Linked DNA regions of Homo sapiens: all the other regions are linked to region 2. Evidence: promoter capture Hi-C in 16 types of primary human blood cells and fetal thymus (Javierre and others, 2016). All regions are on one chromosome and are shown on one strand. The core of a region is centred on a gene start or on the middle of the fragment in contact, and the rest is flanking DNA. Distances in the headings are between cores, read along the strand shown.

The links. Contacts are between HindIII fragments. The CHiCAGO score rates a contact against its expected background, and 5 or more counts as called.
Region 1: a contact is called between a fragment that was not itself captured here and the fragment with the promoter of PRG4 in region 2, in 1 of 17 cell types (total B cells). The highest score is 5.2, in total B cells.
Region 3: a contact is called between a fragment that was not itself captured here and the fragment with the promoter of PRG4 in region 2, in 1 of 17 cell types (non-activated CD4 T cells). The highest score is 5.1, in non-activated CD4 T cells.

What each region holds. Positions count from the first base shown.
Region 1 is chr1:184,660,188-184,664,649 of GRCh38, forward strand. LOC105371648 (a long non-coding RNA gene) reads left to right here and starts at 4,155. Exons shown (of 3, transcript XR_007066768.1): 1 at 4,155-4,241. The HindIII fragment of the contact is 734 bases long and covers 1,140-1,873 here.
Region 2 is chr1:186,293,854-186,297,967 of GRCh38, forward strand. PRG4 (proteoglycan 4) reads left to right here and starts at 2,426. Exons shown (of 13, transcript NM_005807.6): 1 at 2,426-2,440; 2 at 2,993-3,098. The coding sequence starts at 3,023. The HindIII fragment of the contact is 3,679 bases long and covers 136-3,814 here.
Region 3 is chr1:185,289,733-185,294,206 of GRCh38, forward strand. It overlaps SWT1 (SWT1 RNA endoribonuclease homolog), which reads left to right. Exons shown (of 19, transcript NM_017673.7): 19 at 942-2,049. The coding sequence ends at 1,071. It overlaps LOC105371651 (a long non-coding RNA gene), which reads right to left and starts at 942. Exons shown (of 3, transcript XR_922360.3): 1 at 1-942. The HindIII fragment of the contact is 1,611 bases long and covers 2,174-3,784 here.

The DNA.
Region 1 (4,462 bases), core at 257-2,756, 1.6 Mb before region 2:
GTGGTTTCATAAAGTTTATTCAGAAAAAACCTAGTAAAATCATCCCTCTCCCAAAAGAAATATTTTTGCCTCAGAAGCTGAGTGTTCTGCAGGGTGATGCTAACATGTGTCTGCTTGTGCCAGAGCTCAGATTTCTGTAGACTGGGTTATGTTTTCTTCTGACTGGAGATTTCATGTTTGTTTTATGGTGAGGAGGGAGGGAAAGAGAAAAATAGGAGAAATGTTTTCCTTTTCTGAATGATTTAGAATGCACCCTATATCAAACGCATGAGGATTTTTAAAGCATAATTTGCAAGATGTAGAGAGCTGGAAAGAAGTGCTACAGGACCAAATCCCATGTATGACACAGTAAGAAAGAAATGGACTGGCCTAGGGCAGCTCTGCCTAAACCATTTTGTAAGATTAAGCCACCCAGAATCTGCTGAAGAGAAACCAGCTTGAGGTGGCTGTCCCACCCACTCCCCACCTGTGTGTGTAAAATGGCATTCCCCAAGAAAGAGGCAGTCATTCCCCCTTTGAAAAAATGCTGAGAAAGGGTAGATCCTAACACAAGAAATGGAGCCTGGGAAGCCAGGCCCTGAGTTGGGCTGAGGCAGAGAGCATTTTCTTCTCTCCTGACCTTGGGCAGTTGGGTCTGGACAGGAAGTCATGATGCAGGGGTGGGCAGGCCCAGCCAGTGGAGCCTGGCCCCAAAACCCTCTGCAGAGGCCAAGGATAGGCCCACCTGGACCTGTGAGCCCTGACAGTGGCCACCTCTAACATTAATTATGACCTATTCTCTACTGTGTCCTACTTCCTTTTTGATGTCCCCAGCCCTTCAGAAAATTCCTCTAAAGAGCACCAATACTGAGGGTAGTGAAGGAGGCTGCTCCCTCACTGTGGAGGAAGAAGAAAGCTGTGTCTTCTCTGCCACGCCACCTCCCCAAAAGCAGATCACTGTGGGAGTGTAGTTAGTCCCCCGCCTCTATCTCTCCAGGGTCTGCCTCAGTTGCAGGCAGTCTCCTTGCCCCTGACATTCCCTTCCTGGGCAGCTCTCATATGGAGACTGAGCAAAGCAGCTTATTAAAATCCTGGCCCAGGTGGCACAGAACATTTGAAGGGCAATGGTCTCTCCGGAGATTCTTCACCTGGTTGCCGGAAGCTTTATTGGGTCTGCATTGAAGCTGTCTTCCCAGGCCCTATTCTCTTTCTTTTCTTCCTTTCCAAGGTGTTGATCTCTAAAACACCATGAAGTCCTCTTGAAGAACGCTGTCCTTGCTTCTGCCTTTGGAAAACCCAAACTGCAAGGGCAAAGGGCACAGAAGCAGTGGTGTGCTGACAGAACAGAGAAGTGGCAGAAGAAGACTATAGCCTGCACCTGAGCTCCTGGAGGTGGGGGTGGGGAATCTCAGAAGTAATTGACAGGGTCAGATGAAGAAGACAGACCAGTGATCTGTGAACCCTTGTAGCGCACGGACCCTCTGACTCTGATCCTTGCCACCTGCCTTCTATGGCAAAAGAGACTGCTGTGTTTGTTCATCGATCAAACTCCTTCCCACAAGTTTCTCTTGGCCAAGAATGTCTCTTCAGCCCTGAGTTTCCCATTTACTAATAGGTCTTTGTCACTCCAAGTGACAAGGCTTCCCATCTCCTGCAGTCTTATCCTCTAATCCAGTTATTTCTGTTTTTGGAGCATAAACAATAACTCCCCAGGTTTACCCTTTTAGCTTCCCCAACGCTTATGCTTCCCTATTCTTTCCTCCAGTTAGAGCAAGAGCAATCAGACCAAGATTTCAGCTCATGTTTATCACACACCATCTCAACAAAATCTACTAATGCTTTACAAGCCCTCACAAGCATTTCCTGCAGGCTCCACCACTTTGAGAAAAAGCAAAGCTTTTGAATTATCCCTGCTAGTGGTGTGCTGGTAAAATCAGCTCTCTGAAAAGTACATACATACATAGAGAACAATATAGCATTTGCTGATTTCCAATTTTGGTGGTGTAAATGCTCATACCATAACAGATTTCAAGCTACCAGTGAAATTTCACAGGCTTTTACAACCAGCTTGTAAAGTTCCTGAGTATTTAACATTGGCTTTTGATATCCTGTAGGAGCTGGCTTCAGCAGCCACTGGCAGGGCTATCCTCCAATTCTCCAGGTCACCCCCAACCAGCACCCATCTTATTCTCTTAGCAATGTCCTTGACTAACATAATTTTGTCATGACAGCATTCACCATGGCCCACACTGTCTTAGAGACACATTGCCTATCTGATCTCATTTAATCCTCACAAAATCAACCATCTTTATCTCCATTTCACATATCATGGTTACTACTGGAGGCTTATCACCTTTCATCAGACCTGCACTACACATAAAACATAACACACTGCATTGTTGGGCAAAGCAGTGCAGCCCTCTTACAAGTATTTTTTTAACACAATAAAGTTCTTTCAAGTGTAAATTTATTTTTCCATGACAAAAATAATGAACCACTTTGCAAAGAAAATTGGAAGGCAACCATTAATTCTTAAATGTGTTAAGATTATTTGATGTCATGGTAAAATGTTTATGAAATATTACATTTTAAAAGTGTAGTATAGTAACCTACAATGTGATACCAATTCTGTAAAACAGTAAATGTATTAATGAAACACTCTAAGTAAAGGAAAAGTGAGTAGTTATCGCTCTTTTTTAGTATGTTTTAATTGATATATCATGGTTATATATATTTTTGGGGTACATGTGATATTTTGATACATGTATACAACATGTAATGATCAAGTCAGGGTAATTGGGATGTCTGTCACCTCAAACATTTATCTTTTTTTGTGTCATGAACATTATAATTCTTTCCTTGTAGTTGTTTTAAAATATACAATAAATTATTATTCATTATAATTTTTTAATTAAATATTTTTAAAATTTTTATTATTTTTATTTTTTTTAGAGACAGGATCTTGCTGGTCACCCAGACTGGAGTGCAATGGTGCAATCATAGTTCACTGCAGCCTCGAACTCTTGGGCTCAAGCAGTCCTCCTACCTCAGCCTCCAGAGTTGTTATCTATAATTTTGAACAGTAGTTATCTGTAACAGTGAGAAGCAAAGGTTTTCCTCATTTCCTCTTTTACAGTTTCTGTATTTTCCATAATTGATACATCATCACATATTACAATTATGATGAGAAAACATGATACATATTTTTATTTGGAAAATACATAAATAAAAACAAAATCTATGACCTCACCGTTCAGACTCAACATCTCTTCCATTTTGATGTCATGCGATGTTTCTGACGGAGGTTTAATTGAAATGAAACAGCATCAATAAGCATGGGCTCCACAGTCTTCCCACATCGCTCTGAGTGCCCGGGGAGGGACTGGGGACTCCCCCCACACATTAACCCACGAGGACCTCTCACATGGACCTTTTTACATTCTCTCTAATCTTTCCCAAAGCCTTGCAAGGTGGGAGTAATATTATTATTCCCATTTCAGAGATGACAAAACTAAGAAACTCGTCCTCTGTGAGTTTCTGTGCTATTAGGCTGTGTCTCATGTCCCCGTACAAAGTATCTTTGTATGGGAGGCCTAATGGTTAAGAGCATGGACTTCTGTCCGACAGAATTCATTAAGTTCCAGGCCAGACACACTGCCGCTCTCTGGGAATGTGTCCATGGGCTAGGGGTGGCACTGAGCTTCCATTCCATTTCTTATAAAATAATGACGACAAGATCGTTTTCCTTAAAGGGTGGCTGTGAGCCTTCAATTACACAGTGATGAAAAGACCTTAGCACAGTGCTGGGCAACGGCTAGCTACTTCAGAGGCACAGCTGAGACTTGCACAGAGGTACCTGGCTGCAAAGTCCGGCTCCTCTACACTCTGCAGAGCTGTTTTCCCCCTTCAGAGCTCCTCTCCTCCGGGAGGGCTTGCCTCGCCCCGGTCCAGGATCTCTGCCTTCGGTTGAAGCGCAGCGCCCCCAGCCGTCCGCAGGAGGGATCGACGCCTCTGTCTCCCCGAAGTGAGGGCGCTCGCTGCGGAGCTGGGGGTGGTCTCCTCTTCCCCCCATCGCGGCCCAGCAACCTGGGGGTCCGCGTGACTTCTCCCTGGCCGGGGGATGGAGGATGCGCTCTCCTCTGTCCCTTCAAGGCCTCTTCCTCGTCCCAGGTCGAGTCTCCTCCTTGCTGACCAGGCATCGCGAGCAGATGAATCCTCTGGGCGGTTGTCCCTGTCAGGCTGTCAGGACCTGATTTTCCCTGGTAAGCCTTCGTCAGGCAGGTGGCCTCGCCCAGGCCTCGGAAAATGTCAGGGCGCAAGCTGGGCACACGGCCCTCCCGCTGGCGAGCAGGCAGCGCGCGCGTTCTTTAGGATTTGGAACAGCCCTGCCAATTAGCTTGTACTCTGCCCACATGCGCAGGACTAAAAAGGAAGCAGGCCAGGCCCGAGCAAAATTAGACAATGGGCTCCCAGAACACCAAGG
Region 2 (4,114 bases), core at 1,176-3,675:
AATGATTAGAAAACAATTTATATCTTATTTAAAAATATGTATCTCTGGGTATATTTGTATCTGATTTGGACATTCCCAATAGTCCAAAGAAATAATAAAGCAACACTGTAGAGGTCTTACTTGGAAAACTTACAAAGCTTGTAGCTTCCCCGCTGTTGGCCTCAGTAGAGCTAAGAATTAACAGAATTCTGTCTAATGTTCAACTCCATACACGATCTTTTGTGTGTCTATTGTGTATTGATTTCAAGTAGCAAAATGCATCTTTAGCCAGCTTCAGCTCCAAAAGGGGAACTTGCCATAAAGATACAGAGCAAGAAGTTGGGTCTAAAAAACAGAGTAACCAAGACTTAGAAAGTTATCAGAAATTTCTCTCTCTGCGTGGTTGCTTCATATTTATGGATCTTTTTACTCTGAAGGACTTTCTCTACTCCTTTAGACCATGGGCAGAAATGTACACATTATTGGTCTACGTAGACAGACAAATTTGTAATCTCTGAACTATAATTTCAAATTTCCAGGAGAAGAAAACATATTGGCTCGGGTTGTTCAAGTTCCAATTCCTAATCCTATCAGCTGTGGCTGATGTGGGAAGATAACATATATAACCAGAGCTAAAAGGAAAATAGCCCGATAGAAAGAGAAGTAGTTCCCAGAAAAGGGGGATTATTTAGAGATGAGCAGATAGCCTCGAAATTGTCTTTACATATTTAGTCCTGTGAAATAAGCACTGTAGAAAGAAAATAGATGCTTATAATTCTAGTCTTAAAAAAGTCACAATCTCACAAACCTATGTATACATGTAGAGTAAAGGAGTAAAATTTAGTATAATGATTACAAATTAAGTGATGGTTTTGATCAAAAGGGAGCTGGATGTAGTGGAAACATGACGGAACTTAAAATGCAAAGACATGGGTTCAAATCTTGGTTCTGGCCTCTAGTCTTTATAGATCCTTGGATGGGTCACACATTCTTCATTTGTGGGTCTTCATCTTCTTATTTGTAAATGTGGATGATTATATTTAACTTTAAGACATTTTGTGAGAATTAAATGCAGTACCTACCAAATGAGTAGTAGACAGCAGAATCCAGCCTACAACCATGTGGTTCACTGAACATGTTTTCTTTTTTTTCTTTTCTTTTTTTTTTTTTGAGACTGAGTTTTGCTCTTGTTGCCCAAGCTGGTGTGCGGTGGCGTGATCTCAGCTCACTGCAACCTCTGCCTCTCAGGTTCAAGTGATTCTCCTGCCTTAGCCTCCCGAGTAACTGGAATTACAGGCGCCTGCCACCACACCCGGCTAATTTTTTGTATTTTTAGTAGAGAGGGAGTTTCACCATGTTGGTCAGGCTGGTCTCAAACTCCTGACCTCAGGTGATCTGCCCACCTCAGCCTCCCAAAGTGCTGGGATTGCAGGGGTGAGCCACTGCACCCGGCGTGAGCATGTTTTAAACATATAACATTGGTGAAACAACTGGGCTGTATGTTGGCAATAGACTAACATATAGGTGTTGGTTGTCCTTAGGGAAATCATAGTCTGTTGGGGGTGTGAGACAGATGAAGAGATATTTTAGTAAAACGTAGTACAATTGTTTACTATAATTCTAGATGTGATTGGAATTTGATCTGGAAAGGTTTCAGGGAGGTGCTAGGACATGAGCGAAGCCTTATGTTGGTGGGTAAGATTTTACACCGATACATTCCGTATGAAAGTGGGGTAAAGCCTTGGGCTGAGCTGACTTAGCTCTGCAATGGTGATGGTTCACATTTTCATTGTGGGAAGGAAACAAAATTAGTAATTTAAAAGACCTTTTCCAAACATGCTTATCTTAAAGGAAGGATCTAAGGAAAATATCAATACATTTTTTAAGCAGATTTTTAAAATAATAAAGGAAGCTAGAAAATCCAGTGTCAATAATCTACCTGTAGGTAACTGAGAGCATGTTTTCTGTGCTCAGAGAAAATGAAACTACTCAAGAAATGTATATTTGATATAATGGTATAAGTATATAAAATGTATGCCACAAGCTAACACTAGGTAAATTTCAAAGCTACCTTTGCTAGATTTAACTGGAAAGCAGAAGAAATAAATGATACCAGTATGTGAATATTTTAAAGTTGCTGCTTCAATATACTAGTCAAAGTCTGCCAGAGCTATTTACCATCTCAGGACAATTTGTTCACTTCACTTAGAAATTAGAAATGTGCTCTGGCCAATACATCTAAATTTATTTTGTGGTAGTCATTTTGCTTAATGGAAGTGTTTTCCAGATGTTGCCTAAGTCTAGTCGTCTGGGCCCTTTTCCAATAAATGAGGAAAGTTTGATTTCATAGGTTGTCACTGTTGATTTTGTCTAACCTTTGGACTAATTGGTTCATCCCACTGTATTTGCACTGATATATAAGACTCCCAGGACGTGGGATAAACTCATCTATCCTTTACGGGTAAGTGTCAAAGTTAACTTGCTTCATAGAATTAAATGTGTTTTCATTAGAGGTGTTTGAAAAAAAATGTGTAAAGATAGTAGTTGGAAATTTTTGAAAAGGATTATGTTTATGCAATACACCTGTTGGAAGCCTTTGAATTTATATTGAGAATTAAGAAAAAGTTGGAACAGTAACTCCATGATGCTTATTAAATTACATTTCTGTGACACAGGTTATTATTTTCCTTAAGATAAAATTTTAACCTTGCACTGTTAAGTACATGCCATACTTTGGCTAGAGTTTTAAGATAAGTCTATTCTATATTGGAGATTTCTTAAGAATTAAAACTGTCAATAACGTGGCTGAGGGTGACTTGATTTGTTCTGCATAAGATTAAGTCTAATGGCCAAATATTTTCTATAAAATTAAAGCTGATTTAAAGTCTTGTTTCAAGAATGGGATGGTTTTATTATTGTTACATTTTTAAAGTTACTGAAATGTGTATAATGCAAGCCTAAGTTAGTGGTGAGATGAAAGAGCTGTTTTCTGATACTTTTATTTTATTTTCAGCAAGGGTACCTACGGTACCTGAAAACAACGATGGCATGGAAAACACTTCCCATTTACCTGTTGTTGCTGCTGTCTGTTTTCGTGATTCAGCAAGTTTCATCTCAAGGTAGCTTAACCATCGAACATACTTTTATTTAACAACTATTGCTAATCATTCAGTCTTGATTTTTATAACAACGGAAATATATTTCTAAAAATTTATATTTGCTTGAGTTTAATATACTGTACAACCTTAAAATAATATATAACATGTAGCCTGTTTGTAAGTGCTTTGGAATTCTCATCTTTTTCTCCTTTTGAGAGTTTTGAGCTTGTATAAAGAATAATTTTGGTACTTGTTATTTCTATGGTTCTCTCGAAAGTTTAAAAAGTGCAGACAGTTCATCATAAAATTATGCTGGAGCTATATAGTATCATAAAAATAACTAAAAAAGAACAATATTTAGATAACATGTAATTTTTGCCTATATGTTGAACAATTTGTTTTTTAAAATCAAATAAATTATTGATAAATAACTTATTTTGGCATCATTTAGACATAGATACCATATTATAATAAACTATAGTGTTTCAAATGGCATTTTATTAGTCTTGAAAATGTTCTCTTTTTCTTACAAGAACTATTTATCCAGGTATGGACATATACAGATGTGACTGTCATTTTGTGTTATAACATTAAACTTTTCACAGTTCTCCCAAAACAGGTCCTGGATGAATAGTTCTTGTTACTCATTTTTAGAGACTGTTAAAGTACATTCAGTGAAATCACATTAGTAAAAGATGCTAGCATGCCATCTAGGGGGATTAATAGTAACAATGCCAAGCTTTGGATTTTTCTTTTCTTTTCTTTTCCTTTTGTTCCCCTTTGATAAGCAAAATCTGAGAGAATAAAAATCAAGATTCATGACAGTTATGATGAAATTATGTTTCTAAAGTAAACATTTCCAGTAAAATACGAGATTCTTATGAAACCTGAACATGAGTGGTAACTGTCTGCATAGGCATAAGTTGCAGAATTGTTTAGATAAGAAAAGACAGGAAAACACATGAAAGCAAATGTGAATATTCAATAAGAATGATGACTACTCCAGTATCTCCAGACCCTTCGGCTTTCTCGTAACA
Region 3 (4,474 bases), core at 1,729-4,228, 1.0 Mb before region 2:
TTAATAAACCAGGCACAGAAAGACAGATACCCACATGTTCTCACTGATATGTGGAATCTAAAAAAGTATGAGTAGAAAATAAAATGGTGGTTACCAGGGGCTAGGAGGATGGGGGGCTTTGAGGAGATGGTGGTGAAAGGACACAAAATTTCAGATAGGAGAAATAAGTTCAGAGATCTATTGTACAACATGGTGACTTTAGTTAATGACAATGTATTGTATTTTGAAAATCACTAAGAAAGTAGAGTTTGGCTAGATGCACTGGCTCATGCCTGCAATCCCAACACTTTTGGAGGCTAACATGGGAGAATTGCTTGAGCCCAGGAATGAGACCAGACAGGGCAACATAGTGAGACCCTGTCTCTACCAAAAAAAAAAGCAAAACAAAACAAAACAAAATTAGATGTGGTGGTGTGTACCAGTGATCCCAGCTACTTGGGAGGCTAAGGTTAGAGGATCACTTGAGCCCAGGAGGTTGAGGCTATGGTGAGCTGTGATTGCACCACTGTACTCCAGCCTGGACAACAGGAGTGAGACCCTGTCTTTTAAAAATAATAACTAAGGCTGGGCGTGGTGGCTCATGCATGTAATCCTAGCACTTTGGGAGGCCATGGTAGGAGGATCACTTGAGCCCAAGAGTTCGAGGCCAGCCTGGGCAAGATGCTGAGACTCTATCTCTAAAAAAAGTTTTTTTTTAAATAGTAATTTTAAAAATGTAGATTTTACATGTCCTCGCCACAAAAATAAGTGTGTGGAATAATGCATATGTTATTTAGCTTGATTGAGCCATTCTACAATATATACCTAGTTCAGAATATCATGTTATACATAATATATATATATTTTTTATTTGTCAATTAAAATGTAAAATAAAATGAAAAAGAATTTTTATTTCTCTGACTAGCTGTCTTGCAATGATTTAATATTTCTTTTTCTCCTAGGGAAAAGTTAACCATTGGATGCCGCCAGCTGGTTGAGATGGAATATACCATGCAGCAGTGCAATGCATCTGTTTATATGGAGGCCAAAAACAGGGGATGGTGTGAAGACATGCTCAACTATAGGATATAAGTACTGATTTGTAACTTTAAAGGAATTGCATTTGTCCTTAAGAATAACAGAGTAGTTTTCAATCTGGTCACTCTTTTGGGCCAAACCCAAGAGAATTTTAAGAAATGTTTCATAGGTATAAAAAGGTGATCGCCTATTACTGACAGTCTCATTGTAGCTCTAAAAAGCCTAATGTATCCACTGTGGAATAAACTCCATAGACTCAACTCTTCTGGAGTTCACAATGCCTCCCTACCTCTATTCTTGATAGTGAGCCAGTATCTCTAAGGAAAGGAGAGCCGTATTTTTAGTCATCCTAGGGCAGGAGCCACTGTGGCATCTGAGGAAGACCCAGGGTACAGTATTAGCATTTCTTTCAACCCTAAGTATGGGCATGTGACCAGAGACACTGCCAAACCCTAAGAAATCATTAGGGCATGATCATGCTCACCATATTTCACAAATGAAATCTTAATGTGGGCTGTTTTTTATGATCAAACTGTCATCCATGTTGACCTGATGAAAATAACACCCTCCTTCACCTCCCTCAGGGTAATGAAAGTAGAAATTTGACTGAAGCTCCTACTTCCTTATACAGCCTTTCCTTCTGTGGGCTTGTCACTTTTCAGTACATTTCTAGTGGGGAAGAGCAGGGCGACCCCTCTGCTGGGTTTCTCCTTAAATGTGAAGCAAAATAAATTTATATAATGGAATTTGGTGGCAGTGACTGATGTTTGTCTCTAGCTAAAACCAACTGTTTAGTTGACTTTTTAGTTATAGGATAAGTTGGAAGTCCTTGTTTACTGGAATATATTATGCTTTTGTTAACACATTAGATTAAATAGAATTTGGTATTCTATTATAAATGTTTATTTTTTAAAGCAATAAATAACTTATTTTTGGTAAGATTTGGCTTTTTACTTCCAAATTGTTTCTGATATGTACATAAGGTATGATTATAAAAGTGACTGTCTGCAATAAAAGAGAACTTGTTCAGGATATTCACTAGTTGGTGTAGAACCTGTTAAGCTTTGGGTTTGCCAGATTAGGGAACCACACCACCAGCCGCACAGATGGGGCTCAAAGTGCTGTCAGAGATTATGAGCTTCTGGGCAAATGGGGAAGCTTTAAGAGGGCATCTCTGCTCTCTGCCTCTTTCCTTTTCTTTCCTGAGAAGCCAAATAAATATACATTCATCTGTTGCCTGCTGACCCCCATGAAAAGAAGTTTTTTCAGACCCTTATCCTTCAACTTCTAGTTGTTATTGTTGGGTTTTTGTTTTTCCTTGTTCTGGTAACTCCTCTTTTTTTTTTTTTTATCGCTTTAATATAGGTTAATCCTTTCCTTAAAATTTCTTTTCAGTCTTATCACATATTTACCCTTATGCCTACTTCAGTCTTATATAAAAAACTTTTTCAATATTATTGAGATGTGAAGATGTCCTTTTTTAACTTTCTAGTCTTTTTTATTCAAAAACATTGTTTTAAAATTTTTGTTTTAGCTTTTATTTCTTCCATTTGAAATCATTTGAAATGTCAGGTCTTGCTTTTTTTTGTTTGTTTTTCCCTCTCCCTTCTTTGTTGCTTTTTTTTTTTTTTTATGATCGTAAACTTTATTACTTTTCTATTTGTTGTCCTAATCATGTAATGCAGGGGTTGAGAGTTCCTTTACTGTTTTGCAACTTCCTTTTTTTTTTTTTTTTTTTGAGGCAGAGTCTCACTCTGTCACCCAGGCTGGAGCGTAGTGGCTCGATCTCGGCTCACTGCAACCTCCGCCTCTTGGATTCAAGCAGTTCTCATACCTCAGCTTCCCAAGTAGCTGGGATTACAGGCATGTACCAGTATGCCTGGCTAATTTTTTTTTTGTATTTTTAGTAGACACAGGATCTCACCATGTTTGCCAAGCTGGTTTTGAACTCCTGACCTCAAGTTATCCACCTGCCTTGGCCTCCCAAAGTGCTGGGATTACAGGCATGAGCCACTACACTTGGCCTTTGAAACTTACTTTTACAAAAGATAGTTCATTTCTCTCCTGGGAAGACCAGCGAACATCCTCTGGTTTGGAGGGCCTCCAGCTCTCTCCATATTCTGAGCCAAGGAAAAGCTGGCTAAAGAATTGAAGTCTGTTGTGTCCCCACAGGGTCCTCTTGTTAAAACCTGCAGTGGTCAATTGTGACTGCACAGACTAGAACTTCACAGATGGGTTAATCCCACTTTCACATTGTGGATCTTTGACTGTCACATGAAAGACCAGGTGACACAAGACACATCTGAAGCTCTATTTCCTTGCTATTTTGAACATTATTTTAAGGGAGAACGAAAGTCCTTTCATTGTCAGTCCAGGTTTATTTAGATGGTGTCTTGGTCAGCTTTCAGAGCCTAGGTCACATTGTTCATATTCTTGACTTTTTGCTCTCTTAGCTAGCATGACAGGTTGGGATGAATTTCCCTCTTTCCTCAAAGTCTGGTGACTGCATCCAGTCTCTAAGGATGTGATGCTACCCATGGCCCTTTTCTGACTTCGAGATTGGACAGGCCAGTCACACTTCTATTTATTGGGTATATATAAAACCCACTCCAGTGAACAGAACTGAGCCCCATGAAGGCAGGAACTACACTGTGTGTAGTGTCTCATAGTTGTGGTTAGTTAATATTTTTGACAAATTGACCTGCAGGCTCACCTACTCTAAAACAAAAGACATACTTTACCTTTGCCTACCAAAGTTTGACTTGAAAGCTTTTAAGTTTGTCTGGTCTGTCAGGTGAAAAGCCACTCAGTAAAGTCAAACAGATACACCTCTTAGATCTTGGAATATGGCCCACAGAAATGGATTCTTCTGGAGCCAGAGTACCTCAAGATGTTGGCTTTCCTGAGGGTTTTAGTATTATATATACTTGTATTTTTAAAAATCCATCTCTGTATTCATGGAATTCTTTAATATCTTTGGCTGTTGTTAAAAGCAAGAATTGGCCACCCTGAGGGTTTGTAGACTAGTTTTGGCCTGTGACAGGAATCCTTTTTAATTCTAGCTTTGTTTATGAACTAGATGTAGTTTGTCTCAAATTAATTCTCGATGTTGAAAACACTGAGGACAGATTCTTGAGCAGAATTACCAGTTATAAGCCTGGAAGGTGAGGTGGTGGACACCCAAATCCGAGCTACTAGCTTGGTTCAGTCTTCTTAAAGCACAAACCATTTTCAACATCCTATTCTTTATTTCTAATGAGGTAAAATATGGACATGTTCTAGCCCTTCTTCTAAGCTTGATATTTTAAAGGTTTGGTACCACTTTGGTTAAGCTAGAAAAACAAAACTTTTTTTCCTTCGTAAGTGTAGAGTTCTGTGAGTTCTGTCAAACATGTAATCAATCAATCATCAGCAGTCAAGATATTGAAGTCACACCACCCCTAAAAATTCCCTCATG